Linked DNA regions of Homo sapiens: all the other regions are linked to region 6. Evidence: promoter capture Hi-C in 16 types of primary human blood cells and fetal thymus (Javierre and others, 2016). All regions are on one chromosome and are shown on one strand. The core of a region is centred on a gene start or on the middle of the fragment in contact, and the rest is flanking DNA. Distances in the headings are between cores, read along the strand shown.

Region 1 (3,343 bases), core at 261-2,760, 420 kb after region 6:
TTGTTGTAGGGGGTTGTCCTGGTCATTGTAGGATGTTTACCAGCATCCCTGGCTTCTACCCACTAGATATCTGTAGCACTCCCCAAGTTATGACAACCAAAAACATCTTCCGATTGCCAAATACCCACTGGGAGGAAGGGGACAAAATTGTTCCCAGTTGAAAACCACTAGTCTACAGAAGTTCCAGCCCATTGCTGCTCCTGGCTAATTATTTATTTATATTACATGAATCTACTGAGTACTTGCTAAGTGTCTACCCCTTCATCAACAAACACATGCTGGGCACCTACTTCAGACACTGGCTGAAGGCAAGAGGTGCCAAGATCACATAGGTGTGGTCCCTGCCCTCCAAGCACTCACAAACAGTGCAAGCCAGCAGACATGTTAAAATATAAGTTCGGCACAATACAATACGTTCATGGCTCTGTGAGCAAATTGCCATGCGAGCTCAAGACAGAAGCCTTTGGCAGGGAAAACTACACAAAGAAGTTAAGAACACTGGAAAGTAATGATGCTTCATGTTTATACCATACGTTGTGATTTGCAAAGCACTTTCACATATGTTATCTGCCTTGATCCTGAAACAACCTTGAGAGGTGGTTGTTGCTCTCCCCATTTTGCAGATAAGAAAAGCGAGGTTCAAAAGGATTCAGCCACTCCCTAGGTCGCACAACAATTGAGTGGCAGAAGTGGGACTATTTCTGCCACTAGTTGGGTGCCCCAACTCCAAAATTGTTTTCTCCTATTCCCCTGCAGAACTTAGGAAGGCTGCGGGGAGCTGAAGGGCCATTGATGCCACAGCAGGAAGATCATACTTCCCACACCCATGTACCCAAGGCGAAGGTGCCTGGCCTCAAGCAAGATTAGGACTGTTAGATCAGGAACACGGAATGTGAGGAGAAGAGAAACAGTCAACTCTTTTCATTTCAAAATAGAACTTTGGTACTCATAGCAGAGACAAGTTCTTGAAAGATAAGGCTTTTGATTTGCAAAAACTGTTTTTTTTTTTTTTCCAGTTCTAAAAGCCTAGTTTTAGCATCATCAGAAGCAAAGCTCTGAAGGAATTGGGGCATAAAGTCTAGATTAGAAAAAGGAGAGCTGGAGAACCAGACTGCCATGCTGCCGAGATTAGACATGGATAACTAAGAGGGGTGGGGTGGGCGGAGGCAGAGGTGAGAGCAGCAGAAGGAGCTACTGATATGTGAGGCAGGGACAAGGAGTCACATGCTTCACTCCTCCTGTGGTCCAATCTCAGTGGGAGAGGAAGTAAGTATCAGACCCAGAAATCTCTGGCCAGTTTGGGAAACAAGAAGGGAGGGGCCTTGGGATGATAGCAAACCTTAGAGAGAGATCCCTGTCCAGTGGAGGAGCCCAGACATATGGACACAGAGAGTGCCACTCCCTCACTCAGCCTGGTGCAGAGAGAATAGATGGGCTTCTCCATGCCCACAAGGAGTGGGGCAGAGGGGTCACCTGAAAGGCAGAGCCTCGCAGGGGACTCACAACAACAGGAGAGGATGTCCTGTGAGATCAGATGAGGACACTGTCATGTCCCAGCTGATGCCAGCAAGGAGGGGAACAACTGTCTGAACAACACACTGGATGGCAGATATCAGCAGATGTTGACAAGTGAGTCTCACTGGAATGAGATGGAGAACAACACAGTCCAGCAAATATCCAGAGACTCACTCTGATTGGAACAGGGCATGTCACAGGTCCAAGCCCACTGAACCAATCACTGTGGTCAGAGAAGTGAGTGTTTCAATTGGAGGGAGTCTCTTCTTGCTCCATGTATCTTCTTTCTCAGTTTCTCCCCCCCAAAGTCAACCACTGTTTATGGTTTCTTGTGTATCTTTTCAGAATGAGAAGTTCTCCATTTACACAAACTCATCTATGTGTATGTGGTCCCTCACTTTCTTTACTCAGTGTCAGCCTACCATACACACCCCATTACACTTAGATTTTTGACCTAACACATCCTAGAGACTTTATATCTGCTCTTCTGAAAGCTGCCAATGACCTCCCTGTCATCAAATACTCTCTACTACTCCACAGCTGAGTAGGGGAGCCAGGTGGTGCCAGGAGAATCCACTTCTCCTGACTCATGGTCCTGTGTTCTGTCCCATGCCCATGCCTGCCCAGCACCCCCGGCCACCATCCTGTATGAGCCAATCATGTCCATCTAAGGCACAATCTGGAAGCCAACACGAAACCACGTCCCCCCAACCCCCATCACAGCACCTGAGCCCAGTAACCTGAATATAAGCCTTCCTGGAAAAAGGGACCTAGCCTACACCCTCACCACTCAAAGTGGGGTCCAAGGACCAGCATCAGCAGCAGCATTGCCTGGGCACTTTTAGAAATGCAACATCTTAGGCCCTTTGCAGAATCTTGGTCTTTATTTAAACAAGATCCCCAGGGGGATTCTTGGGCATATTTAAGTTTGAGAAATGCTGGTCTACCTACCTTCTTCTGAGCACTTGGACTTTTCCAGTCCAAGAGGTTTCCAGTTCACAGGCTGTTCTTGCACTTTGCTGCTGATATAAATACTCTCATCGCTGCTGTATTGGGTTTACATTTAAGGATTCCCAAAATAAACCTGGCCCTTGTGTACACAAAGATGCTAGTGGCTCTCCAGGTTGCAAGGAGGTGAGTTAGGGAAACCCTGATCCTTTTTTGCCATCAATGGCCAGAAAAGGTTTGCAGGGGCCTCTTAGATATTCCTGCTTCTGTGCTTCCCTTACCTCCTGGCACGTGATGCCTGCTTGCCTTTCCCCCTGAAATACTGTGTTTATAAACAAAGCCACATGTGAACCCATAAAGGGAAGTCTAAGTGGGATCCCTGCGCTACAGGGCCCAGCATCTCCTACGGAGGCAGCTGATTCTCACGAAGCGACGAAGGAGCCATCCAGAATGGTCAACCGTCTCTCCTGGGGCATTCTGGATGAAAAGCCACCCTCCTGGAGTACAGGAGAAAAGCCTCCCAGCTTTTACTGTGGTTCTTGGTTCCTATCCTCCAGCGCAATTTAATTTTTTAAATAGATGTCAGTCCCTATTTTTCTGATAAATGGCTGAGTTTTTAACACGTGGACATGTTATAGAAAAGCGCAGGTATGGGTCATGCGAAAGCTTGGTGAAAAAAAGAAAGAAAATAGGAAAGCTTTTATATTCTCACTATTTAGCACAAAATTATAATGGTAGGAATACTTTCTAATTCCACAGCAAGGCAATGCCTACCCACACCATATGAGTCCATGAGAATGTGTGTTGACATTACTTAGAGGGGGTGTGGGAATGGGAGATGGGGTTGGGGTGTGTGGGAGGAGGTAGGCAGATTTGACCA
Region 2 (3,623 bases), core at 853-3,352, 440 kb after region 6:
TAAATACATACATACATACATACATACATACATACCTACATACATACATAAAAGGAAGGGAATTCTGGCACATGCTACAACATGGTGAACCTTAAGGATGTTATGCTAAGTGTAATTAGCCAGTCACAAAAGGACAAACACCGTAGGGTCCCATGTACAGAGGTGCCTAGAGAAGCCAAATTCACAGAGACAGAAAGTAGAATGGTGATTGTCAGGGGTTGAGGGGAGAAGGTAATGGGAAATCATTGTTTAATGGGTATAGGGTTTCAGTTTGGGAAGATTTTAAAAAACGTTCTGAAGATGGATGGTGGTGACGCTGCACAGCAATATAAATGCATTTAATATTGCTGAACTATATACTTAAAATAGTTTTTAAAAAGTTTTATGCTATGCATATTTTACCACAATAAAAAATAGACATATACAAAGAAAAAGAAAAATATATATTACAACGTGGGCTAATACAATTGCTAGGATGGAGCACTTCATTTTGTCTGAGCTTTCTGGTAACCAGGCTATGAAGAGAAATGTTTGAGTCTGGATCTTTAATAAAAGAAAAAATATTGCAGATGGATGGTGGTGATGGCTGCACAGCAATATGAATGCATTTAATGTTGCTGAACTGTACACTTAAAAATAGTTTAAAAAAAAAATAAGTTTTAGGCCAGGCACATGGCTCACGCCTGTAATCCTAGCACTTTGGGAGGCAGAGGCAGGTGAATCACCTGAAGTCAGGAGTTTGAGACCAACCTGGCCAACATGGTGAAACCCCATCTCTACTAAAAATACAAAAATTAGCCGAGAGTGGCAGGCACCTGTAATCCCAGCTACTTGGGAGGTTGAGGCAGGAGAATCCCTTGAACCCGGGAGGCGGAGGTCGCAGTGAGCCGAGATCGTGCCATTGCACTCCAGCTTGGCAACAGAGCGAGACTCCGTCTCAAAAAAAATAAAATAAAATAAATAAGTTTTATGCTATGCATATTTTACCACAATAAAAAATTGACATGTACAAAGAAAAAGAAAAATATATATTACAATGTGGGCTAATACAATTGCTAGAATGGAGCACTTCATTTTGTCTGAGCTTTCTGGTAATCAAGCTATGAAGGGAAATGTTTGAGTCTGGATGTTTACTAAAAGGAAAAATATTGCTGTTTCCAGAGATCTCAGTGTCCAGCCTACCCCCAACCCTGGCCAGGACTCAATTATAGCAGGCATTTGCCTTAGTGATCCTTATACAAGAGGCATTGGATAGCATGCAGGACAATGCAAAAATCAACAGTAGTCTCACAGAATGCAAAGGCACATTCATGACAACCATTTGTGGTGGTGGTTCTGGAAGAAATGTGAGAGAAAATCAGTGAAACCTAACTTGAGAGCCTTTCTGGCGGGAAGGAAGTTAATGAGGGCTCGAGATGAAGATTTCCAGGAAGGAATTTGGAATTCCCAAAACACATATTCACTTAGTGGTGCCTGTAGGGTTTCCCAAGAGAGGTGTCCTACAGATTGGGTTAAAGATGAGGATCCAGATGTCATCAGTACAGAGATGGTCACTGTAGCCAGAGGTGAGAATGCACTGTCCAGGGAGAGTGCAGAGCCCCAGGGGGGCTGCTTCATAGACACCCCCATTTCCCAGGGCCCACTCAAGGACTGCAGAGCAGGCAGTAGCTGGGTATTTTTAGTGGCCATGCAGGAGTGAGAACTCACATCCTCTGACTCGCTGTCAAGTGTACTGGCCATTGTCCTGGGCACTTCTCTGTTCAGGAGAAAGAACACGATGCTGGTCATCAGGAGGCCTGGTGGGAATCTCATGGACACCACCTCTAGCTTTGTGGCTTTGGATAAGTTATACAGTCTCTTGCAAACTCAGGTTCTTCATCTATGGATGGTAATAACAATTTAACAGTTCCTTCCCTGCTCTCCTTACAAGCTTATTGGGAGCAGAAGGGTGGCTTGAGAGGACTTTAGTCTGTGCTCACCTCCTGTCTCCCTTACAATTTCAAACATATATCAGTCCAAGTGCAAACACTGGGCTCACTGTATAAGAGCTGCTCCAGAAAGTCCCCAGCCTCCTTTCCTATTCACTGACCTCAGATCCACTAGTGGATATTCTCAACCTGCCCCTTGTTGGGAGATCAACTATCATGAGCCCTGTGATAGCAGAATGCCACCTTCAAACTGCTGACACACATGGGCGATTGTCATTCTGTGTCTCAGAGTCTGTTCCAGCTCTCAGGGCAGCAGGGATGCCTTTTGCCAAGCCAGGAAGCTTGGGAGAATGTTGTCTACAGTTCAAACATGCTGCATTTGATGAACCTATGGGCATTTCAGTTGAAGAGACCTGGGTGGTGGTTTCACATAGAGGCCTGAAATCCCCAGTAGGTCTAGGAAAGAGAAATTTGATAAGCATCAATATAGAGGTGGAAGTGGAAGTCATCAGTGGGACCCTTTCCAAAGAAGTTTGGAACTAAAAGTGCAAATGACTTTAATAATGAGATAGCTATTGGGCATCAAGAAGGAGCTGGGGGAAAATTCAGACTTAGAGTTTTCTATGAAAGCTAGAATTGGCACCACACCCAGTCACCCAAGCCTGGCCTGGGTTGCACCCTCACCACGCGTGGCTCAGGGTGCTTGGCATAGGAGAGTCTGCAGAGAGCAGCCTTGCATTAGGTTGGAGTGACTTGCTGGCCAGACTCTTTCAGACACATTGTCTCTTAAAACCTCAGCCTGGATGGCTATGCTCAGCAATCATGTGTTTAAAAAGCAATAAGACTAAATGCTTTCCCGTTTCCCCTTTGAGAGACCATGTATGATAAATGATAGGCAATTTCATGGTTGGAGTTTCAATTTCCGAAAATATTAGTGCTATTCCCCAAGCTCCACTTCAGAGATAAATTCTTTTTGGCAGCCTCCTCCGTTGTCTCCTAATTCCCTGATTCTGAATATATTTGGAGGTTTGGTGCAAATTTCATCAGCTCAGTCCCAGCATCTACCTGTCTGGTCTGCTTTGGAAAGGGTGTCACCCACCTTCTACTCTTTCAGGTTCTTTTTATATTTGTTACAAGTCCATGGTTATTTATTAGGTACCTCCTATGTGCTCCCACCTCCATGCTAAGTATTATGGTGGATGTAGGGAGCTATAATCAATCATTCAATCAACAAACATTTGTCATGCATCCAGACCCTTCAAGCTCAAAACCACAATTCTACAGAGCCTCTCTAATACTTCCTGCTTGCTTCACACTGTCTCCATTTCACAATGGGGAGAACTGATTTCAGAGCTAACCTAGTAACATCAGGGTGGACTAGAGTGATCAGTGGCAAGGTAGGAGAGGGTGAACATTGCGTGGACACCTACAATAGGTCAGGTGCTGGACTGAGTGCTTGCCAACCCTCTGCACAGGAGTCTAAGCTATTTATCTTCACAAAACTCAAGGTAGGTGTTATTATGACCATTTTACGGATGTGGGAACTGAGGCTTAGAAAGGCTAAGCAGCCTCCCCAGGGATTCCCATTCCACTGGACAACACTGCCTCTTCTGATGTCCTGATGGCAGCAGGCTGGATGGTGTCCCAACAGTCATTTCCAAACCATGCAAGTGTCCTTCTTTGAAAACATCAAAG
Region 3 (3,190 bases), core at 659-3,158, 440 kb before region 6:
TCTATGGTTGTTTGGCATTACCATCATGCTGTGTGCAGAAAAGATCTATCACAGCTGAAGGAGGCTGAGGGGTCTTTTCCCCTTGGTTACACTGAATATGTGTTCTGTGTCTGCGTTTTGACTATGACCCATAACATAAGGACAGGTATGGTGTTTTCCACTTGTGACATAATGTCAATGCTCAAAAAGTTTCAGATTTTGGAGCATTTCAGATTTTGGATTTTTGAATTAGAGATATTCAGCCGGTATTGCCATCTTAAAATATTAAGACTTCCAGTTCCTGAACACAAGATGTTTTGCCACCTATTTAGATCTTCTTTAATTTCTTTCAACGATGTTTTCTAGTTTTCAGTATACAAGTCTTGCACTTCTTTGGTTAAATTTATTTTAAGTATTTTATTCTTTTTGATGCTATTGCAAATGAAATTGCTTTCTTAATTTCATGTTATAGTTGTTATTGCTACATTTTTACATACATTTTGTGTACTGTTGTTGTGTCCTGCAACTTTACCAAGCTTGTTTATAGCTCTAATAGTTTATTTTTTGTAGATTCCTTAGGGTTTTCTATATATAATATCACACTATCTGTAAATAGAGATACTTTTACTTTTTCCTTTATGATCTGGATGCCTTTTATTTCTTTTGCTTGCCTAATATACTTGCCAGAATCTCCAGTGCAATGTCAAATAGGAGAGGAGAGAGCAGATGTGCCTGGAAATTTTTGACTGTGTACATTTTGGATTTTACTGTGTTGGGTGTTGGATTTTGCTGCATTCCTTTAATTATTGTTGGGCTTTGTTCTGGGATTGCAGTTAGGTTGCTTGAAATCAGTTTGATCCCTTTAAAACTTGTTTTTACACTTTGTTGACATGGGTTGACAGTCTTTGGTCTAGGGCTAATTTCACTCCACTATTAAGGCAATAGTTTTCTGAGGATTTTACCTGATGCCCTGTGTATACGGAGGTCTATTTCACTCTGGAAGCTGGGATTAAAAATTATTGCAGGCTCTGTGTGAGCTCTGGGGATTGTTTGACCTACTCCTTGCCCAGCCGTGGGCAGTTTCCTCACATGCATGTGAGGGTTAATGCTCAAAGATTGGAGTTGAAGTCTTCCTAATCTTATTCTAGCCTCAGGAAATAGAGAGATCTCAGCTATGCTTGTTACTTCTCTCCATTTTCTACAGGAGCTTGAACTAAAGTCAAGCTGATGTGAACATACTCTCCTGCCCTTCACTTCTTGGGTAAAGGTAATTGGGTGATTAGGGTAATCACCGGGTAATCAAGGATGTTTGCAAGCTTCTGCCCACAAAGAAAGCCAGGGTAGGGAGTAATGGAAATGGTGGGAGTGGTGGATGAGGCTGGTCTCAGACAATCAGGCATCTCCATCAGGCTTGAAGAGCAAGACAACCTTCCTCATTACCCCATACTTGGCAATGCTTCTCCTACTTACCTGCTGAGAACAAGAAAGAACCAGAGCAGGCCAGGACACACAGAAGGTTACAAATTCCTGGAATCCCTGGCTCCTGCCTGTGTTGCTACAACAGTGGGCTGCAGTTTCCTCATCTCTAAAATTCATAGAGCCAGACCAGAGGTACTCTAGACCTGGCCCCACTCTGGCAGTCTGGGGTTGTGAGTTTCCGAGCCCCTGGCCTCTACTCTCACTCTGAAACTGTAGGTGCAGGGCAGTGTCATTTGTCTCTAACCCAGTGAACATGCAGCTTAGCCCCAAGGAGCCCCTAAAGCCACATAAGAATGTCAGTAAGCAGCATGGTATTTCTGCTTGTCCTCATCACAGATGGAACATGAAAGAAACTAATGCTGATAGAAATGTCTGACTTTTTTTTAGAAAATTAACGGTTCTGGATAAATTATTGACTCTGTTTCAGGAGTGGTGAGGTGACAAGAAGGAGTGGCTCATTTGCATGATCTCCGGCTGCAATGGCAACCACACTCAAGTGGGAGTCCTGACTCTTCCACTGACTGCCTGTGTGACCCTGGGGAAGGTACTTAGCCTCTCTGAGTTGCTGGATTCTCATCTCTAAAACTGGATTTTAAAAAATCTGCTATCAACCTCACCTATGCTGGCTAGAAAAAGGCAGCATATTTCTCACCTATGCTGCAACCTCACCTATGCTGCAACCTCACCTATGCTGCAACCTCACCTATGCTGGCTAGAAAAAGGCAGCATGATTTTCAAACTTAGAAGAAATCTTATGTAGAATTTAAGCACACAGAAACATGCAGAAACTTATAGGTTAAAAAAAAAAAGAGGGAAAATACATTGATAAATAAATTGGGGTGAAGGAGCAGACCAAAGGTGGTCCTTGCAGTGAGAGATGATTGTACATAGCCCTGCTGGAATGTGGCAGGAGCTTGGCTGCAATGTGGCCAGGGGAGCCATTTCCACTGCTCCTGAGGGTGGGGCAGGATGAGCGAGAAGAGAGGCTGAGTAAGGGTGGAAGAGAAGAGCCCATGAAGGTTGGGGAGAAACACTCACCGTGTGTCAGGAACTAAGAAGCTTTTTAACTTGCTGGCAATAAGGTGTGGATGTGGTCTCTTTTCAGGACCTCAGTGTTTTCAGTAAGTTCAGCTGTTGGTGTGATGGACCAGGCAAGTATGTGTGATTATTTATTGGCTTATTTCTTTATTTATTATGTGGAAAAGGGGAGTTTCCATCGACTCAATGTGAGGTGGTGATGGCCCCCCTCAATGTGAAGTGGTGATGGCCCCAGGATCCCACAGCAGGGGAAGCTCTGGGAATTCCCAGAACCTGGGAGGAGCTGCTGGCTTCACCAAGCTGTGCAGCTGGGGGCTTGAGATGCCTCAGCTGGATGTCTTGAAAGGGTGTTGCTCCGCCTGGCCATGGGCAGATGGGGTTCGTGAGCTCCCCGGGACGTCGTCTGTCACTTTCTCCAGCAACTCCGGCTTCTTTGGAGTTGACAGCTGGCCTGGCCGTGGCAAACGCTCCCGTGCCTGAGGCCAAGTCCCTCTCATTGCCATCCCTGCTTGGATGGATTCCTATGGCTGCAGTGGGAGGGGGTGCAGGATGGCTAACGAGACCATGGAGAACTCCTGTCCTCTACATGGAGGGACAGGCCTCTCTCCACAGACTCCAGGGCCTGGGAGCGAGACCTGGAAGGCCAGAGGTCCCAGCTGGAGTGTGCAGGTGTGTGCATGTGCATGACCTGTAT
Region 4 (3,453 bases), core at 689-3,188, 460 kb after region 6:
CCATCACTCTGATTACATTCCAGCACTGCATGTCACAATGCTGCGGGGGCGTGATGGACGGTGGGGATCCGTCACCACGCTGATGGCCCATTCCCAGCACAGCACTCATATTGAGGCTATGATTTAGGGGCAGAGCCCATACTCCTCCCAAGATGCACACACAGCAAAAGTGGAGTCTTTCCTTTCTACAAAAGGGAGAAGTTTAAGGAGAGCAACACTTGTAGAGTATAACTTCAAGGTCAATGGCTTGGAAATCAGAAAGACCTAGGATCAAATCCCAACTCCTCTACTAAAAAGCTGTGTGACCTTGGCGTAAATTTTCCTCCCTTCCTGAGGCCATTGTTTTATATGCAAATGAGGATAATGATACTACCCTCCTTGGATTAAGTGAGCTCCAAATAATATAATCCATGTAAAACATGTAGCACAGGATGAGGCTCAGGCTCCCAGGACCATGACTTTTGATTTGTTCAGCATGCACACAGTGAGAGACGCAAACCCCAGCCTCCACCAGGCTGTCCAAGGAAGACAAAGATGATGCAGGAGGTCTCTCTCCTCCTGCATCACCTTTACCTTCACCTCTCTCCTTCCCTCCTTAATGGGTCCAAGGCCAGTCAAGGAGGTCCTGAGGACACTATCTCAAGTCAGCCACACAGCCTGTCTTGCAGGCAATCTATCCATCAGTCCATCTTTCCATTCATTCTTCATTCAGTCAATGAGTGCTGAGCATTCACCAAAAGCCATACCCGGCTCTGGGTACTGGCGACACATAAGTGGACAAAACAGAAGAAGACCCCTGCTGCCATGTGTGAGCATAATTACTCCATCCTTCCACTGGTCAATCCATCTGTCCATGGGCAGTAGCCCAGCCTGAGAGCCCTGCGAGGCCATCCCTGACCCAGACAAACTATGAGATGGCTGTGACTTTTAATTGTGAGGTTAAAAGAGAATCACATCCTGTTAGCTCTTGAAGGGAGCATAGCCATTTTCTCATCTGATCCCAAGGAGCTGGAGCCCATGGGCAGATGGTGAGTTGCCTAAAGTCATGCAAGAAGCATGAGATAATGTCAAGGCTGGAACTCAACATGGTCCCAGAACTTTAAAGCTTAACTTTAGATCCTAATGAACACCCCGTACAACACTTTCTCTTACAGGTCAAGGAGTCACACAGTTCCTGCCCTTAGGAAAAGCCAACTTCCTTGAATAGGGAAGACACAGATGCATGAAAGATTAGACCTACATCCTGTTCATATAAGCGGTCTCATTTCATTCTCACACAGCCCTGAGAGTCGAGCATTATGATCCCATTTCACAGGTGAGGAGACTGAGGGCATGAAGGTAAATAACAGATCATATTAACTCTGGCTCTCCCGACTACCTACAGAAGAGTAGAAAATTCAGATTCAGCACACATACATATGAACACACAAACACACACACACGCACACACAGAGCTTTGATTATTTTTTTTAAAAGTTTAACAATCCATTGCAAGCACATTCCCATGTTATTAAGTATTTTTTGAATATATGCCTTAAAAATGTTTTCTACAATATAAATATACTCTATTTTATCAATCCTCATTTGTTACATATATAACAATTATTTCCAATATTTAAGTCTGATAAATAATGCTCTCATGAACATCCTGATCTCATTGCCAGTGTTTTCTTAGTATGGGTTCCTAGAAGTAGGACCATGGAGTCCAAAAATATGAAAACTGTTTAAATTTTTCCAGACAGGTTGTGCCAATTTATGTTCCAATATCATCACCTAGTTGCTAACACATATCATCATCATCATCATCTCCAATCTTAATAACTGGACAAGTGAAAATGGGATTTTATTATTGTTCTATTTCTCATTTCTTTGGCTAATGGTAAAATTAAACATTTTCTCATACGTTAGCCATCTGTATGTCTTATTTTGTGAATGTTCTCTGCCAGTTTTTTTTGCTGGGATGTTAGTCCTTTTTTTCTTTAGACTTTGTTAGAACTCTTTGTATTCTTAAGGCTATTAGCCTTTCGCCATACCTGTTGCAAGCATTTTTCCCAATTTGTCATTTACCTTTTTATTTTTGTAGTTTCTTTTTTAAAAATATACATTTAGAGCTTTGTGTAGGCAATTCTACTGACAATTTCCTTCGTGATTTCTCCAATTGTTCTTAAGTTAAATATGTATTACCCACTTTAAGATCATTTAAATATTCACTTAAACTTTCATATTTTGCTATGAGGTTTTTAAATACTTAATGCTATAACTTGCTTGGAATTTGCCTGAGAAAAAGATTAAGATCTAAAAAGATTGGCTTCCAAGTAGTCAATTTTCTCAACAGCATTTGTTAATCCAACCCTTTCTCATGGATTTGCAATGCTTCTTTTTATTTCATTTTGCTTGTAAGTTTGGTTTCAGAGGTCAGTTATGTGCCACTGATGCTGACTTGTTCTTGAGCCAGTACCTTGCTGGACAGTTGCTGTAGCTTTAAAATATATTCTAATCTATGTTAAAGGAAATCCTGTCTTCGTGTTCTTTCAAAAATGTCTTAGCTGTTTTTAACTTGTCATTCTTCCAGATTCATTGTAAAGTTGTTCTGATGAATTATGAAAAGTTTCCATTGAGGTTTTGCTAGACTTATGTATTAATTCAGGAGAAACTAACATCTTTCGTTGTTCCTTTTCCCCAACCAAGAACCCGTCATATTTCTCCACTTATTCAGGTCTTCTCTTACACAAAACTCATAAAATTTTGTCACTTTCTTTATGAAAGCTTTACACATTTCTCACTGAGAATTGTTCAGAGGTAGATTATGTTTTTGTTTGCTTTTCTTTTCACACTAGTTATTGTGGGTCCATAAGAAAGTTATTGATTTTTGTGTATTTATCTTGTGTATCAGAGAGGAGAATATATTCACTAGCAATGTTCCCAGTGATAATTCACAAGAAAATTGGTCAAAGAGAGTCTGGGCGCAGTGGCTCATACCTGTAATTCCAGCACTTTGGGAAGCTGAGGCTGGTGGATCACCTGAGGTCAGGAGTTCGAGACCAGCCTGGCCAACATGTTGAAACCCCATATCTACAAAAAAACAAAAATTAGCCAGGCATGGTGGAGGGCACCTCTAATCCCAGCTACTTGGGAGGCTAAGGCAGGAGAATCGCTTGAACCCAGGGGGTGGAGGTTGCAGTGAGCCAAAATCGTTTCATTGCACTCCAGCCTGGGCAACAAGAGTGAAAGTCTGTCTTCAAAACAAAACAAAACAAAAAACAAAAAATTGGTCAAAGAGAGACAGAAAGAGAAAGAAAAGCTATGGTCCCCAAGGGTTCAGTCCTTTCCTCAGTGTGGGTGGGGAGACAATCAGAAGGTCACAAGGATGTCTGATCAGATTCAGGGCAGTGGGGTCCACCAGCGAAGGAGAAAATGTAGGTGGGAGGGGAGATGCCGGCAATGGAAGAACTA
Region 5 (3,414 bases), core at 766-3,265, 490 kb after region 6:
AGATAGGTGCTCAAAGGGCCACCTGGGGAAGGGCAAAGACTTAAATGTGAGTCTCAGCTCTGCCATTTATAGCTCTTGGGCTAGGCACTTAAACCTGCTGCACCTGAAAAGCACATTTAGGAAAAAAAAACTGGGTGATGGGGGCGGGAAATAATCTATCAAACATTAAAAGGCTGTCTGGAGGAATCACTTAAATGACCTGCGGAAAAAAATCTTTGGAAAGTAGCATATATACAGGTTCTTCTGCAGGCTATGAGCCTGCAGTGAAGGGGCACTGGCCCAGGTTCAGGATGCTGCCTTAGGTCTTTGTTGCTCAAAGTGTGGCCCACAGACCAGCAGCATCGGTATCACCTGGGAACTCATCAGAAATTGAGGCTATTGGGCCTTAGCCCAGACTTCTGATTCAGAATCTGCATTTTGACAAGATTCAAGTGTACACATTCAGTTGGAAAAGCACTGCCATAGGCCTCTCAGTCTGGCTTTCCAGGTCTCAAACTCCAGGGCATTTAAATAAGAAGGTTAGCTTCATTCACTTCTCAATTATTCTTATTTCAAAAATAGAATTGAAAAGGCTCTTGAAGACATCCAATCCAGGAATGGTGAATACCCGCAAGGGTGCAGCCATCCTTCCCAGAGACTAGAGCAGACATTGCTAATCAATCAGGAAACTCTTCCATGGTGCTCAAAAGCAGCTGCACCATCCCCTCCACAATGCAGTCCAGAAAGCCTGATGGCTCTTCCATAATTACCATGGGTATGAAACCTATTTACCACCCCTGACCCCCGCTATGTGGCCTAATCCCTTCTTTATTCATAGGTCGACCTTATCTCCAGTTTAAGCCCATTTTCCCAACATGCTATCCAATTTAACATTCACCCCTTCAAAAGTGTTCAACAAATTATATGGTTACACTGCTTAAACAGAAACTGAGTGTTTCCAAAATTAAATGACGTCCCCAAAGATGGAGAATCCTATTCCTCTGGCTCAACTCTCATCTTCATGTCACCTCTCTGTTCCACCACCCACTTCAACATTTTAGACCAAGGGAGGGAAGACTTTAAACCTCACAAAGAAGTTTAGAACATTACCCTGGTGCTCCTGAAATCCAAGGTAGAAAGACAACGGAAGTTTTTTAAAATGCTCTGAGACCTCGAACCACACTCCCATGTCCCCTGGCCACCCAGCCTTGTCACCTGCTTGGAGCTGGAGCTGGCATCTTCATGACCAGGAAACGGTGGCATGCTGAACCTGCCTCCCCCAGGCTCTTCATTCAGTGTCCCAGCCGCCTGCCTCAAATGCTACAGGCAAAGCACTCTGAAATAGGGTGATATTCTCAATTTAATTTTTGTTCACATGTAATAGGAGATCGATACCCTCACTAAGCTGCTGTGCCCATCAGCCAGTAGGAAGCAGCCTATGTTTTTGGAAGGCAAATCGTTAAGAACTAGAATACAGTATAGGCATGTACACCGGCTGCATCCAATTTCAAGTGAAAATTAATGGCAAATTCTTGTAACCACATTAAGAGCCATTGTCGTTCATTTGAAATCAGTTAAACATGAAAACAATATGAAAACCTTCTTGAGTTCATGGAACATAAATATTTGTCTGTATTTTTTGCCAGTGCCCCAGAGAGACCAGGAGATGCTGGCAGATCAGTGTTCTAAAAACATGCTCATGAAGGGGGAAAAATAAGGAACCTGACTCTTGTTGGGTTGAACTACTTGTCAACTTTTCCATTTCCTCAGTCAAAAGATAATTAAACAGTAAGCAGATGTCAGAATCTAATTGATGCAAGGAAAGATTGCTCAATGTCTTATGGTGCTTTGTCATTGTTATGTACTGTCTGCAAATAGCCCCTTGGCTGGTACAAGTAGCAGAAAGTCAACCAGTTAGCTTCTCTTCCCATGGAGGCAGAGGCTCTCCCAACAAACATACCTGTGTTCAGTCACTCTGGGTGTCAAGAAGCACATAAGAAAGTTTCTGGGACAATGTCTTAGGCATATTAGAACAGAGAGAAGCTGTGGCTTTTCAGAAGAGTGGGGAGAGGGGAAAAGGAGAAAGAGAGAGATAGAGAGGATGGGGGAGATGGAGGTGAAGAAGGGAAAGGTTGAGAGATGAGAGAGAAAAAGAATAGGAAAAGACTCAGAAAAAGGAACGGTTGGCAGAGGGAGAGAGTCCCAATATGGTAAAATCAAAACGGCATGGTCTTCAGAGTCAAGCCTACTGCTTGGTCATCCCTTTCCAGCTGTGGGAACTTAGACCATGTATTTGACTTCCCTGAGTGCATTCTTTCCACTGACCATTGGATATCATATTCCCTGCCCGGGCCTTCCCACGGCTTGATCTGAGATGTAAGGAGTCATAAGTATCAGAGTCTGAACATTGCAAAAAACTGCACAACTGCTTCAATTTTTAAAAAAAAGAGTAGAAGGAAATCGGGTGAAAGAGAATTAAAACAAAGTTGGGTGCCAGGACAGTGGCTCACATCTGTAATCCCAACACTTTGGGAGACTGAGGTGGGCAGATCACCTGAGGTCAGGAGTTGGAGACCAGCCTGGCCAACATGGTGAAACCCTGTCTCTACTAAAATTAGCCGGGAGTGGTCATGGGCGCCTGTAATCCCAGCTACTCAGGAGGCTGAGGCAGGAGAACCACTTGAACCCGGGAGGTAGAGGTTGCAGTGAGCCGAGATTGCGCCACTGCACTCCAGCCCAAGCAACAGAGTGAGACTCCATCTCAAAAAGTAATAATAATAATAAATACAGTGGGGTGTGGGAGAGCTGTCTCTCTGTTATGCTCCCTTATGGGGAACCCACAGCAGTGCTGCTTGGAGTTCAGTGTGACTCAGAGATGAGTGAAAGAGCTCTTTCAGATTCTACTGTAGATTCCTCCCCTTAAAACACACACACACACTCTCTCTCTCTCTCTCTCTCTCTCTCTCTGCTCTCCGTGGGAGAGCATTCAAATGGTGTCCAGGAACCGAGGTGGACAACAGACTTGAAAAACAACTGCCAGCTGGGCACAGTGGCTCACGCCTGTAATCTCAGCACTTTGGGAGGCTGAGGCGGGTGGATCACCTGAGGTCAGAAGTTTGAGACCAGCCCTAGCAACACAGTGAGACCTCGTCTCTACAAAAAAAAAAAAAAAAAAATTTAAAGATATTAGCAAGGTATGGTGGTACGTGCCTGTAGTCCCAGCCGCTTGAGAGGTTAAAATGGGAGGATTGCTTGAGCCTGGGAGGTCAAGGCTGCAGTGAGCTGTGATTGCACCACTGCATTCCAGCCTAGGAAATAGAGTGAGATGCTGTCTCAAAAAAAAAAAAAAAGAAAAAAAAGAAAACAAACAAACAAACAACTGCCGTGCTATGTCCATAATGTCAATCCACATACCACTGGGTAAAATCATCGTCC
Region 6 (3,528 bases), core at 18-2,517:
CCGCCTTGGCCGTCCACCGGGCGGTGCGCGCTTTGAGGTCCACTCCCTGCTTGCTCGTCTGCCCCGCCGTAACCCCGAGCGCGGGAGGGCGAGGCCATCGGTTTGCGGGCAAGCTGGCCCCGGAGTCGAGTGGCCTGTGCGACCAAGCGGGGGGTCCGGGGGGCCCGGGGCCGGGGCGAGCGAGCGGGGGAGCGTCCGCGTCCCTCGGAGTGTCCAGGCTAGCGACCGAGACACCTACAGGCTTCCGCCAACGCCGTGGCACTGCCGGGAGCAGGCTGAGCAAACCAGGTGGGAACTCGGAGTTCCCGGGCCTCGGCCGAGCAGGGTCCCGACCCCATCCCCAACCCCCTCAGCCTGGGGATGCAGTGAGGAGCCCGCGCGGCGAGGCTGCGTCGAGGGTGAAGTTGTGCCCACGGGGAAGGCGCCCCGAATGGGGCCAGCCGTGGCTGAGCCTGTTGTCCACGGGCAGCCGGGCCCTTCCATCTGCGCTGCCCGCCTAGCCAGAGTCCCTCAGACTTCTCCTCGCAGGCAGCCGCCGCACATCAAAGGAGCTGTTTATTTGGCTTTCTGAAAAGAAGGGCGAGTGAACAAAGGAGAGCTGGGGGCTAATGTGGGGGAGGCGGGCAGAAGAAGGGGTGAAGAAAAGGGGACATCCTGAGTTCCGAGCAAATTTTTAAAGGTCGGAGGCAACTTTAGGAGCCACCGTTTTATCAGTCCTAAATCTTTTGAAGTGAAAACATTAAAGTGACAAAGTGATTGTTTGTTTTATAGTATCTAATTGGGCTGCTTTGCAGACCTAATGAGATTAGAGGGAGGAATCGTTCGCCGCCGCTGCAGAATAAACTGATACATTACTACCAGCCACAGGTTTTGAAGATTGTACAGCTTGTCTTATTTTCTTTTGTTGTTATTCCTCTGTCTTCCCTCTTTCCTCCTCCCGCTAAATAATTATTTGCTAGTAGACCGTGGGAAAAAAAAGGAGGAAAAAAACTCGAGCAGCCCAGGACTATAATATATATCTATTTATTATATGTCTTTCGGTTAATTCCTGATCTGAGGAGCGCTGTTTTTCACTCCCATGCGAAAGTCACCAGCGGGTAGGGCCTGATTGCTACTTTTCATGCATAGTTTTAGACACAAGAGGGCATTGTGACGTCGCGCCCAGCGGCACCCAGTCGTAGGCCGAGTCCCGCAGCCCCACGTGGGGGCCCCGCGCTCCCATTGGCCAGCGCCGGACGAAGCTGCCACATTATTTTGTTACTTTTCAGTCCCTATTTGGAACTGCTCTCGCGGCAGTTCAGACCTCGTGCTCGTCCCCTTCGCCTGTCTGTGTGTGGTATCCGTAGGTCCGGGGCACTTTTTTTTTTGGTGTGTGTGTGTGTGCGTGCGCGCGTGTGTGTGTGTTGGGTGTGTGTGTTTTGGGGGTTTGCCGGGGCGCGGAGAGGAGAGCCGGGCCGAGGGGAAGGAAGGAAGCCGTAGAGCTCCCCGGTCTCGGGCTGCGTCTCCCCTCCAGCGCTCTCCTGCCTGTGCGCTCCGACGCGGCAGCGGCGGTGGCGCTGAGCGCTCCTCGGTGGGGACGCGGTGCTCAAGCTGGGAGCAGCGAGAACCCTTTGCGGAGGCTTCCCGTGCCCGCTGGACTTAGGATGCCAGGGCGTTTGATTTGCACCTACTGAGCCCGGAGTTCCTCCCCGGCCCTGGGAAGGGCTTGCAGCGGCGGCGGCGGCGGCGGCAGCGGCAGTAGCAGACGGAACAGCAGGCTCTCCTCTCCGAGGGGGGGCGTCGAAGCGCCCGCGCCGGGCTCCCGCCCTCACCCTCCGGCGCTCCTGCGGCCCCAAGCCACCACCTCGTAGCCCGCCTCCTTCCTCTTCTCGCCGCGAGCCCCAGGCCCGGACGCCTCTAGGATCGGACCCGCGCGCCCCGGATGCTTGGGGCTGCCCCGGCGCGCCCCCCTACAGGCGCGACCCGCTGAGTGACCCGGAGGGGGCCCGAGCTCGCCCCAGGAGGGGCCCCCGGCCTCGGGACCCCGCGCCGGACCTGCTGGGGAGCCGACGATGTCCGCGCAGTCCCAGGCATTGACGCGCTCGACGCAGCCCAGGGAAGGCGGCCGGCCGCTGCCCGCCGAGCCCTAGGCGCACAAAGCCCGCGCCCGCCGCCCGGCCCCGGCGCCCGCCGACGACTTTGCCGCCTGCTCCGCGGCTCTTTGTCTCCACTTGGGGCGGGCGCCCGACTCTGGGATTTCGCTGCGAGAACGAGCTGGGGGGGCCGGGGGCGAGCTCTCGGTTTCCCGGCCGCCCCCCGCTCGGGCTCGGCTCCCCCCTCCCCCGCACCTCCCCGGCCCGGGCTCTCGGCGCTTCCACGCTCTCGGAATCACGACCCCTCCCTGCCATGTATCCGCAGGGCAGACATCCGGTGAGTAATTGCAACTCGGTTTATTTAAGCATCTATCATGGCAGGGTAAACGAGGCAGTTTATCTGGCACCTCCATTTTGCTTGTTGCTACCTTTATGGTGTGTGTGTTTGTGTGTGTGCTCTCACACAAAGGGGGATGCGGCCGGGGGGCGCCGTTGAGAGAGGAGGTTAATTCCGCGCGAGTGGCGCGGGGGGCTGCTTGTGTTCCAGGGGGAGCTGTTCACGCGGTCCCCGGCCCCGCTCTGAAGTCTCCCAACTCACCCGGCTTGTCTCCCGCCCCCGCCTTACTGGGGAGAGGGAGGCCCTTGGTGAAAGGCATGGGAGCCCCGCTGCCGACGGGGAGAGATGGGGCGCCCCCCCTCCGCCCCGTCGGAGAGCTGAGAAACTTGCTGGGAAGGTTCTGGGCTGAGGGTGGCCTCTTTTGGTTGGGCGCCGTTGGGGAGGGGCCGGGGCCGCTCTGAGCGCGGTCTCATGCCCCCGCCCCCTCCCCTGTCTTGTCTTCGCGGGCTCCAGGCTCCCCATCAACCCGGGCAGCCGGGATTTAAATTCACGGTGGCTGAGTCTTGTGACAGGATCAAAGACGAATTCCAGTTCCTGCAAGCTCAGTATCACAGGTAAGGCCGGTGGGGGCCGCCCCGGGGCTGGCGGGGAGGGGTGGGTCCCCTGCGCGGCTCCTGCCATCCCCCGCGGGGACGGAGGGGGCTCCCGACCTAGGGGCGGCGGGGCAGCCCGGGCCTCCGCCTTTTGTTTCCCCTTTCCGAGCGCGCCGCCTTAACCCTTTACTGCCCGCAGCAGCCCGGCTCCCAGCGCCGCCCGTGGGGTCCCCGAATGAGGGTCTAGGTCGCGGCGAGCGGGTTCACTCCGGGTTCTGGGTGTCGGGAGCCAGCGTCAGGGTCCTACTCCCCTGCTGCCGTGATAAGTCCTTTGGCTCGCGGGAAGTTTCGAATTGTTTCACATCCCCCTCCCCACGGCGGGGACCCAAATCCCCCCGCGTCCCCAGGCTGTGGGATAATGGGGGCGCCCCCGGGGGGGTGTCAGGAAAGTGGAAAAGTGGCTCTAGAGGCCCTTGGGTCGGGGCCTCAGAGGAGGCTGTCCAGGCGCCACGCCTGAGCCGGCTCC
Region 7 (3,691 bases), core at 452-2,951, 480 kb before region 6:
AGAGCAGCCACAGGAGCTGCATCCTGCACAAGGGGGCTAGGACCCACCGGCTCAGCCACTGGCTCCTCCCACCCCTTGACCCTTGGCATTGCTTGCACGGACTTTGCAGAAGGAGCCTCTGCAGGAGCCCTGGACAACTTCTTTTTCCTTTTCAGAAAGCTAGAAAATGACTGAAGCCCAAACTCCCGCCCTTGTGCTGTCCAGGACCCCCAAGCCCAGCTTCGCCTTGGCACCCCACCCTCATCCTCTCTTCCCCCAACCCCAGCCCTTCACCCTAATCAGGGGCACAGGATCTGCTGCCACTGAGCCCTGATGCCTCCTCCTCTTGCATTTGTCCCAGCCTGCCTCTTGTCCGGGGTGTCTTCTCTTTCCCTTTAGTCCAAATGAAATCTGTTTGTTTTCCTGCCCAAGCCCACTCCCACTTCTTCAGTGCGATTCAGCCCCCACCCATGTCCCCAGTCCTGGGATTTCTGCTTTAGACATGGCAGTGCCACAACTTAGCACCTCATTGTTCTCCAGCGGTTTCAGCTATTGTGATTCTGTTTCTTGAACTAGATTACAAATTCCTTGAGGGTCAGGACAATGAGGAATGGCTCTTTCCCCTCCATCCTTCTTTCCTTCTCTTCCTCCTTCCCTTCCTTCCAATTATCAAGTAGAAATTGATGTCCTCCAACTGGATTGGCCACCACCAAGGTCCTAGTGGGGTCCCCAGGTTGGCAGAGTTAATTGTTTGGTGTTTTTGATCTCCAATTGGCCTGAGCTTGTTCTTTTCCTTCTTTCCTGGATTCCTGTGACTTCCAGGGCCCCCTTTTCCGGCCTCCCAAATTAACTCTATTCTTAGTGCCTTGTTTCATATGGAGGAACCAGTGACTCAGAATAGCTCCATAGGTGACTTCTCCCCGGGGAAATTTTTGACCAAGCCCCAAAGAGTAGAAATGATCAAATTCTAATGAACTTGCCTTGCCTAAGGGCAGGGCCGGGTCTTTAAAGCTTCCCCCTTGAGTTGCAAGGAGACCGCTCTGAGCCATGCCCAGCCACTAGAGATGCCCGTGCAGTGAGCTCCGTCCTTGAGGTCACAGAATTAGATCAAATTCTAATGAATTTGATGTGTGAATTTTATACCTGAGCTAGATACTGTACTGTCCAATTTAGTAGCCACTCATCATGTGTGGCTTTTTACAGTTAAATAAAATAAATGTAGTCTTTCAGGACTACATTTACGGGAGCCACATTTTAAATGCTCAATAGCTGCCAGAAACGAATTTTTTAAAAAGCAGGTGTGGGCTGGGCCTGGTGGCTCATGCCTGCAATCCTAGCACTTTGGGAGGCTGAGGCGGTGGCTTGCCTAAGATCAGGAGTTCAAGACCAGCCTGGCCAACATGGTGAAACTCTGTCTCTACTAAAAAAAAAAAAAAAAAAAAAAAGAAAAAATGGGTGTGCCGGTGGATGCCTGTCATCCTAGCTACCTGGGAGGCTGAGGGACGAGAATCGCTTGAACTTGGGAGGCAGAGGTTGCAGCGAGCTGAGATAGCGCCACTGCACTCCAGCCTGGGCAACAGAGCAAGACTCTGTCTCAAGAAATAAAAAGGTGTGGAGCATATCAGGAACTTCTCAGTCCTAGATCACTCCAGCTAAGGGGTTTCTTGCCTTGCCTAAGGGCAGGGCCGTGTCTTTAAGGCCACCCCCTTGAGTTGCAAGGAGACCCCTCTGAGCCATGTCTAGTCACTAGAGATGCCCATGCAGTGAGCTTGGGCCTTGAGGTCACAGACGCAGTGGTTAATAAGGCTCCTGGTAATCTCCCAGCCCTGAGATCCTGCCTTCTAGTTCTGAGAGCAGCCGGGGGCCAGATACACCTACTCCACAAGGACGGAACCACGTAGAGCTTCCCCCGATAGCCTCTAGAATGGAAGGCCTATTCTGCAGTGGCCTGGGTGCCAACTTCCTAATGGCCTGAGTACCAGAGTGGTAACCAGCATCCGGTGGCAGTTACTGTCAACTGTTCAGCAGAAAGCTGAAGAGCCAGTGGGGCAGCAGAGAGTGTGGGAAGGAGAGGAGGAGGGAGAGAGTGCCAGGGAGCAGGGCAGGATGTCTTTCGGGGGCTGAGACCCAGGGCAGAAGGCTCGGCAGGACCATGGAGGCGCCACGTGCTGACCTTCCCACGAAGAGAAATATCTCAGTTACTCCTATAGTGGAGTGTCTGGGGGATGAGGCTCTTTCTTCAGAGGGGGTCCTGGCAAACCTGGGTGTGCTCACGGTTAGACACCAGGATGCCCAGGGCACTTGATGGGAGGGGTAATGAAGCCTGGAATGTTCAGCCTGCGATGAGATGGCTCAGAGGCTATGGGTGGAGGACGGGGCAGAGCTTTTCAAAATTTGAAGGGTGGTCATTTAAAGCAAGGGCAGGCAAGCTTTTTCTATAAAGGGGCAGACATTTTAGACTTTGTGGGCCTCATGGTTTCTGTCACGACCACTCAACTGAGTTGCGGCATGGAAGCAGCCACAGACAATGTGGGAGCCAATGGGTTAGACGTGTGCCAATAAAACACCGTTTACAGAGATAGGTGGCAGGCCTGCTCAGCCCTACTCTGAGCTAGACCCTTGCTCCTCACAATGTGGTCCTCGGACCAACAGCATCAGCATCACTTGGGGGCATGTGAGAAATGCAAAATCTCAGGCCCAGCCGGGTGTGGTGGCTCACACCTGTAGTCCCAGCACTTTGGGATGCTGAGGCGGGCGGATCATCTGAGGTCAGGAGTTTGAAACTAGCCTGGCCAACATGGTGAAACCCCATCTCTACTTAAAAAAAAAAAAAACCCAGCATGGTGGTGGGCGCCTGTAGTCCCAGCTACTTGGGAAGCTGAGGCAGGAGAATCGCTTGAACCCTGGAGGCAGAGGTTGCAGTGAGCTGAGATTGTGCCACTGCACTCCAGCCCAGGTGACAGAGTGAGACTCTATCTCAAAAAAAAAAAAGAGAAAAGAAACTTCGTCTCAACATAGAGATGAATTTTCCACTTTAAATCCTCAGTCTTGCAAAAGGAGGCTGCCTCTATGGGTAGTGAGCACCCGTTACTGTGATGTGCAAGCAAAGGCTACACACTCAGTTGTTCAGCACATTAGGGAGGACCTGGACAGGATGAATAGCATCGTGGCTAAGGGCTCTCCCTGGGAGGCAAGCTGCCTGAGTTTGAATCCTGATTGGGCAAGAGGATATGTCACTGATCTCTATTGCAGATTCCTTATCTGTCCAATGGGGTAATCAAAGACCTCATAGGGTTGTCCTGAGAATTAATTTGCTCAAAATACTAGAAGAGCACTTACCACACAGTAAGTGCCCAATGTTAGCTGTTACAATCGATTATATAATTCTATAATAGATATCCATATTTTTGGTTGGATCAGGGACCAGTCTTTGTGTCTAAGGTCCCTTCCTTCCAACTCTGAGACTCGAGGAGGGAGAGGATTTGCGGAATCACAATCACAGCCAGTGTGTTTTCAGTATTTAGTAGGAGCCAGGCATTATGCAAGCATCCATTAATGGCTCTCAAATTACTTTCACATACTCGTTGGTGTTTAAGAGCAGAGAGATTATAATCTGTTGCCGCCCAAACACTCTGCATGTTTCAGCTTTAGAAAGTCAAATTGAGCCCAAGAATGATGTGCATAGTTTTGTCACCCACAGATTTATGTCTGG

Evidence for each region. Contacts are between HindIII fragments. The CHiCAGO score rates a contact against its expected background, and 5 or more counts as called.
Region 1: a contact is called between a fragment that was not itself captured here and the fragment with the promoter of TLE3 in region 6, in 6 of 17 cell types (non-activated CD4 T cells, total B cells, total CD8 T cells and 3 more). The highest score is 7.1, in non-activated CD4 T cells.
Region 2: a contact is called between a fragment that was not itself captured here and the fragment with the promoter of TLE3 in region 6, in 2 of 17 cell types (total CD8 T cells and activated CD4 T cells). The highest score is 5.2, in total CD8 T cells.
Region 3: a fragment that was not itself captured here is called in contact with the fragment with the promoter of TLE3 in region 6 in 4 of 17 cell types (fetal thymus, non-activated CD4 T cells, total CD4 T cells and 1 more); the score reaches 12.5 in fetal thymus.
Region 4: a fragment that was not itself captured here is called in contact with the fragment with the promoter of TLE3 in region 6 in 2 of 17 cell types (total CD8 T cells and neutrophils); the score reaches 6.0 in total CD8 T cells.
Region 5: a fragment that was not itself captured here is called in contact with the fragment with the promoter of TLE3 in region 6 in 2 of 17 cell types (neutrophils and M2 macrophages); the score reaches 7.0 in neutrophils.
Region 7: a contact is called between a fragment that was not itself captured here and the fragment with the promoter of TLE3 in region 6, in 1 of 17 cell types (fetal thymus). The highest score is 5.1, in fetal thymus.

What each region holds. Positions count from the first base shown.
Region 1 is chr15:69,673,800-69,677,142 of GRCh38, reverse strand. The region is part of intron 2 of PCAT29 (prostate cancer associated transcript 29); the gene reads right to left. Among named protein-coding and RNA genes, the nearest start is that of PCAT29, 83 kb to the right of the region's middle. The HindIII fragment of the contact is 3,243 bases long and covers 1-3,131 here.
Region 2 is chr15:69,652,116-69,655,738 of GRCh38, reverse strand. The region is part of intron 1 of PCAT29 (prostate cancer associated transcript 29); the gene reads right to left. Among named protein-coding and RNA genes, the nearest start is that of PCAT29, 62 kb to the right of the region's middle. The HindIII fragment of the contact is 339 bases long and covers 1,933-2,271 here.
Region 3 is chr15:70,540,026-70,543,215 of GRCh38, reverse strand. No RefSeq gene overlaps it. Among named protein-coding and RNA genes, the nearest start is that of LINC02205, 36 kb to the right of the region's middle. The HindIII fragment of the contact is 1,222 bases long and covers 1,298-2,519 here.
Region 4 is chr15:69,632,898-69,636,350 of GRCh38, reverse strand. The region is part of intron 1 of PCAT29 (prostate cancer associated transcript 29); the gene reads right to left. Among named protein-coding and RNA genes, the nearest start is that of PCAT29, 42 kb to the right of the region's middle. The HindIII fragment of the contact is 1,661 bases long and covers 1,108-2,768 here.
Region 5 is chr15:69,608,856-69,612,269 of GRCh38, reverse strand. The region is part of intron 1 of PCAT29 (prostate cancer associated transcript 29); the gene reads right to left. Among named protein-coding and RNA genes, the nearest start is that of PCAT29, 18 kb to the right of the region's middle. The HindIII fragment of the contact is 8,868 bases long and covers 1-3,414 here.
Region 6 is chr15:70,095,656-70,099,183 of GRCh38, reverse strand. It overlaps TLE3 (TLE family member 3, transcriptional corepressor), which reads left to right and starts at 1,267. Exons shown (of 20, transcript NM_001105192.3): 1 at 1,267-2,409; 2 at 2,923-3,023. The coding sequence starts at 2,386. RefSeq lists silencers at 1-89, 160-239, 1,829-1,998, 2,009-2,128, 2,849-3,278 and an enhancer at 35-1,009. The HindIII fragment of the contact is 8,963 bases long and covers 1-3,528 here.
Region 7 is chr15:70,576,767-70,580,457 of GRCh38, reverse strand. The region is part of intron 1 of LINC02204 (long intergenic non-protein coding RNA 2204); the gene reads left to right. Among named protein-coding and RNA genes, the nearest start is that of LINC02204, 8.0 kb to the left of the region's middle. RefSeq lists an enhancer at 221-1,024. The HindIII fragment of the contact is 1,418 bases long and covers 993-2,410 here.